Linked DNA regions of Homo sapiens: region 1 is linked to region 2. Evidence: promoter capture Hi-C in 16 types of primary human blood cells and fetal thymus (Javierre and others, 2016). All regions are on one chromosome and are shown on one strand. Each heading gives the region's core, a stretch centred on a gene start or on the middle of the fragment in contact. The rest is flanking DNA. Distances are from core to core; before and after follow the strand shown.

Evidence for each region. Contacts are between HindIII fragments. The CHiCAGO score rates a contact against its expected background, and 5 or more counts as called.
Region 1: a fragment that was not itself captured here is called in contact with the fragment with the promoter of RNASE11 in region 2 in 15 of 17 cell types (neutrophils, M2 macrophages, naive B cells and 12 more); the score reaches 7.8 in neutrophils.

Annotation. Positions count from the first base shown.
Region 1 is chr14:20,324,264-20,326,963 of GRCh38, forward strand. It overlaps CCNB1IP1 (cyclin B1 interacting protein 1), which reads right to left. Exons shown (of 7, transcript NM_021178.5): 3 at 2,453-2,530; 4 at 1,276-1,390. SNORD126 (small nucleolar RNA, C/D box 126) reads right to left here and starts at 2,276; the gene lies at 2,178-2,276. The HindIII fragment of the contact is 275 bases long and covers 1,248-1,522 here.
Region 2 is chr14:20,586,583-20,589,282 of GRCh38, forward strand. It overlaps RNASE11 (ribonuclease A family member 11 (inactive)), which reads right to left and starts at 1,419. Exons shown (of 3, transcript NM_001394190.1): 1 at 1,278-1,419; 2 at 981-1,043. RNASE11-AS1 (RNASE11 and RNASE12 antisense RNA 1) reads left to right here and starts at 1,642. Exons shown (of 5, transcript NR_122043.1): 1 at 1,642-1,736. The HindIII fragment of the contact is 10,143 bases long and covers 1-2,700 here.

The DNA.
Region 1 (2,700 bases), core at 135-2,634, 260 kb before region 2:
ACAACCTCTGCCTCCCAGATTCAAGCGATTCTCCTGCCTCAGCCTCCCAAGTAGCTGGGATTACAGGTGCACGCCACCACACCCAGCTAATTTTTGTATTTTTGGTAGAAACGAGGTTTCACCATGTTAGCCAGGCTGGTCTTGAACTCCTGACCTTAGGTGATCTGCCCACCTCGCCTCCCAAAGTGCTGGGTTTACAGGCATGAGCCACCACGTCAGGCCAAAACAAAGAATTTTCGTCAATCTATTATGCAGATGTCAAAAATTGCCAGGTAGTACAGAATCTAAGAGAAATATACGCATGGATTCTGATGACAAATAGTTAACATCAAACTGAGCATTTACCGTATGCTTTACCCACACCCTTACTAATTTAATCTTCAAAATAACCACCCTGAGTCAAATACTATTGCCATCCTCTAAAATATAAAACTAAGACATAGATATTAGGAAACTTGCCAATGCTGCATAACTGGTGAAGTGATAGAGCATGCGTTTGAACTCAGTCTGACTCCAGAACCCATATATATACTATACAATGCTACTTCTCAACATCTTTAATTGACTCTTTTTTTTGGAGACGGAATCTCCCTATCACCCAGGCTGGAGTATAGTTGCGCTCTCTCTGCTTACTAAAACTTCCACCTCCTGGGTTCAAGCCTCAGCCTCCTGAGTAGCTGGGACTACAGGCGCACACCACCAGGCCCAGATAATTTTTTGTATTTTTTTAGTAGAGATGGGGTTTTGCCATGTTGGCCAGTCTGGTCTCAAACTCCTGAGCTCAGACAATCCACCCACCTCGGCCTCCCAAAGTGCTAGGATTACAGGTGTGAGCCACCACGCCTGGCCTCAACTGACTTTTAAAAAGTGAAATTTAGCCGGGCGCGGTGGCTCACGCCTGTAATCCCAGCACTTTGGGAGGCCGAGGCGGGCGGATCACGAGGTCAGGAGATCGAGACCATCCCGGCTAAAACGGTGAAACCCCGTCTCTACTAAAAATACAAAAAATTAGCCGGGCGTAGTGGCGGGCAACTGTAGTCCCAGCTACTTGGGAGGCTGAGGCAGGAGAATGGCGTGAACCCGGGAGGCGGAGCTTGCAGTGAGCCGAGATCCCGCCACTGCACTCCAGCCTGGGCGACAGAGCAAGACTCCGTCTCAAAAAAAAAAAAAAAGTGAAATTTATAGCACCTTAGCAGCTGGCCATGAAGTCACAAACCTGAATTTTCAAAGACTCATATATATGGCAAAGCTTCTCAATCTCAACGTAAGCCTTACCATAAAAGAAAAACGCAGTACTCATCTACAGTATATCCAGGATTTACAGCACCAAAGAGGTCCAGACTGGAACAGCGAAACTCAGATCTGGTTTCAGTCTCTTGAAATTTTACTCCTGCAAAAGACAACAAAAGCTAAAAAATTATTTCAAGTCCTGATGTTACTTTGAGTTGTTTGTATTTCCTGTATTTCACCCTTCTTTCTACCTAATTCTCTGCTGAAAATGCAGGCACGGGTAAAGAATATAAGCTTGTCCTAAGTTACCTAAAATAACTTTTAAAATATTACAATACATGAATACAATAAAATTAGAAAATAGGTTTATAATAATAAAAGATTACTTGTAGAACCCAATTCTAGAGAAAATAACCCCCTAGTATTTTAGTATATATGTCCTTTCAGTTTTCTTAAGCAAACATATGCATATAAAAATATTTAAGCAGAAACATATTGCTCTATATAATCTGTTTTTCATGTGTCATGAATACCGTTCTATTTCAATAAACATAAAACTGTATCATAACTTTTAAGTGATTCTATAGTGTTGTACCGTATAGTCTTCACAAAATTGATTTAACCAACTCTGTGTTTCCTTTAATCTACATGTATAGATTGATAAAATAATGATTAGTTTAAAACTGCCAGGCTAAATTGCCTATAGAATTATACCAGTTGCCAGTGCTTTTTCTGTAGTGTTTGAACTTTTAGATTAATGATTCCTGACCCTAGTTCTAACTCACAAAAGTGATTTTTTGGGGATATAGAGATATCACAAAAGATCAAAGCACAACAAAACATTAGTCTCAAATTCATAATTTATTAAGATTTAAGAATTACCTGGGATTACAGACTAAATCCCAGTATGAATTCCAACAAGCAGAATTCAATTGCAGGTGTTTGCCCCTAGCTTTAGTCTGCTCAGAGCATGTGTTTAATCAGGCTGATCAGCTGAAACACGGACTTAACATGCATTTCATCATGGCAAACTGTAAATGACTGAGGAAGGGCAAACCAGCACTGGCTCCTCATCCCTAAACAGGAAAATTCTCCTAAGGTTAGAACTGGGGATTTTTTTTAATTACCAAATTCCATCCACTAATAACACCGAGTCCCAAGTCTTGCTAAGTGATTAGAAATCCAAATGAGGTAAAAACGAAGATTTTGCTCTTACTCTTACCTCTGGCATCACATGAATCCAGCTTCTATCTAGAAATCCAGTTGAACCACAGGATCTATCAATTATCTAGGATCATTTCTGGAAAATTTAAAAAACATAAATAAATTCACAAAGGTTATGATTACATGACAACTCACACCAGCATGTTCTATACCAAGTCACAAGAAAATTTAGAGTAACCGTTCATCCTTTATTTAACTCTCCATTCATTAATATAAATTATTGACTCATCTATTTGGAGAATGTCA
Region 2 (2,700 bases), core at 169-2,668:
CAAGGATGCCTTGACCAAAGACCTGATACATTTTGAAGGCAGAAAGGATGAGGGATTTATAGGGAATTTATTTTGTTTCCTAAACTTCTATATCCTATACCATTGACATCAGTAGTGAGGTGACAATAGGGAAACAGAAAGACCAGGAGGAGAAAGATAAACAGGAAGAAGAGCAGGGCAGAAATTTCCAGTCTTTCTGAGACATATATTTCAAGTGGGCAGCATTCACAGCTGCCTAGGTTTTATTTGAAACTGCTAAGAGGTGCCCTTTAAAAAAATATACCTGGCTGGGCACAGTCACTCATGCCTGTGGTCTCATTGCTTTGGGAGGCCAATGCGGGAGGATCACTTGAGGCCAGAAGTTCAAGACCAGCCTAGGCAACATAGTGAGAATCCATCTCTACAACAACAACAACAACAAAAAGCCAGTTGTGGTGGCATATGCCTATAGTCCCAGCCACTCGGGAGGCTGAGAGGAGAGGATTTCTTGAGCCCAAAAGTCTGAGACTGCAGTGAGCTGTGATCACACAACTGCACTCCATCCTGGGCAACAGAATGAGACTCTGATCCTATATATCTGTATAATATATATGTATATACATATTTAGATACAGATAGATAGATATAGATACACACACACCCAAACTACGAATGTCTAAAATGTCACAATTCATTTGAATTTGGTGTTGATCCCTATTGAATGAAATTACTCTGAGGATACATCCTATTGGTTCATCTCAGTTATACTTTTATCTGCAAGATATTTTTAATTAGAAAGGAGGAGCTTCGGTGAAGAAGGGGAGAAAAAGCACTGAAAAGGAAAGAAAAGACAACAAAACCTAGGGAGAGGGATAGAAAAAGGAATCAGAATTCAGAAAATAGATGTAGGAACCTAAAGGATGCATTTCATCCACTTCAAAGTTTTGCCCAAAAAATGATGCTACCAAGGCCCAACAAATCATGTGCTAGGGACCACCTACCTGTTCCTGTTCAGTTTCTATTCAGATGCTGAGGGCTCTGTTTACCTGGTGACACCCAAAATTCTATGGAGACAACAATGACAACAGAATTACCACAGAGAACTAGAAAATGAAACTCAGCTGAAAAACGGCCACCTAAGATGGAAGAAGCCATGAGATGAGTAAGCGTTGCCTACTCACAAGGTTGCAAACTGTCCTTCACTTACGATTATCCCCCAACGCCCCCTCCTAAATCTGATCAATCGCATGGAACTTGATGGTTACAAAAGACAGAGCTAACAACTAGCGTAAGTGCACCTTCTTCTTTGACATGACCTTGAACTAAGTCCAAATGAGCAATGAACAGCTGAAGTCTCTCAACTGAAAAGATCAGGACAGAGAGTGCTCTCCAAAGCCTGTGACCCACCCATGCCTGCTCTAGGTCACTGTATGAGTCTCTAGCTCTCACATACAGGATTGAAATGCCATAGCTCAGAATTAGTGACAACATAATCTGGCCTTTATTTGCCAATTGCCCCTTATTTCTTACTACCTCACAATACAAATTCTCCCCTCCAACAATGGCTATAATATAGCCATTTTCTGTACTACTTAAGAAATAGAATTATAGACTAATAGACTTGGAAAGAACTTGAAAGATTATCTAATTCAAGATCCTCACTTTACAGACAAGGAAACTAATGAATAGAGAAGAAGAGGACTTCATGAAATCCCCAGAATTAGAAATCTCTCTTTCTCGTCCTTCTCCTTCTAGCTGTAAGGATACTATGCCCATAGCTGAATGTGGGGAAACTAAGCAGTAAGTCCAATTGTAAGAACTAAAAAGAGAAAAGAGTTAGTAGTCCGGCTCAAAGTCCTCTCTGTTCCTTCTGGAGACACAAAGAGGAGGTCACTGAGCTCTGAAAGTCTCAATCCCTCCCTGGGAAATCCTTATCTGTGTCTCTCTAAAGTCTTTAAGGGAAATGGTTTCAGACCAGTCAGGCTCCTTTCTTTATTTCAAGACACAAAGGGAGCTGCTGAACAGGAACAGATGCTGCCTGAGTTGTATATGCTATCTTTAAAAAAGACCCTAAGAGGTGACCTCTGTTGCTTCTACAGCTAGAAGCAGAGCTAGGATTAGGCTGAGGTTAATGAGACACTCACTCTAAGACCAAAATTTAAGAGAGTGCCACAAAACTCAATAATCAAGATAAATAATATTTTAATGCAACAATTTTAGAAAATATTTATTTATTTATTTTTGAGACAGAGTCTTGCTCTGTTGCCCAGGCTGGAGTGCAATGGCATGATCTCGGCTCACTGCAACCTCCACCTCCCAGGTTCAAGCGCTCCTCCTGTGTCAGCTTCCCAAGCAGCTGGGATTACAGGCGTGCACCACCACACCCAACTAACTTTTGTATTTTTAGTGGAGAGGAGGTTTCACCATGTTGGCCAGGCTGATCTCAAACTCCTGACCTCAAGTGTTCCACCTGCCTCAGCCTCCCAAAGTGCTGGGATTACAGGCATGAGCCACCACGCCTGGCCAGAAAATAAATTTAATGCAAAATAATCCCTGATGAACAAATGTTAAAATTTTAAATACCAGGATCTGGCCCTGCACTACGTTTCTCACATAACTCATCTTACCCTGATCCTAGCCTTGTCAGATTGGATCTTCAAAATTTTGTGATAGATATTTTGAGCATCCAAGATTTCTTTTTTTTTTTTTTTGAGACGGAGT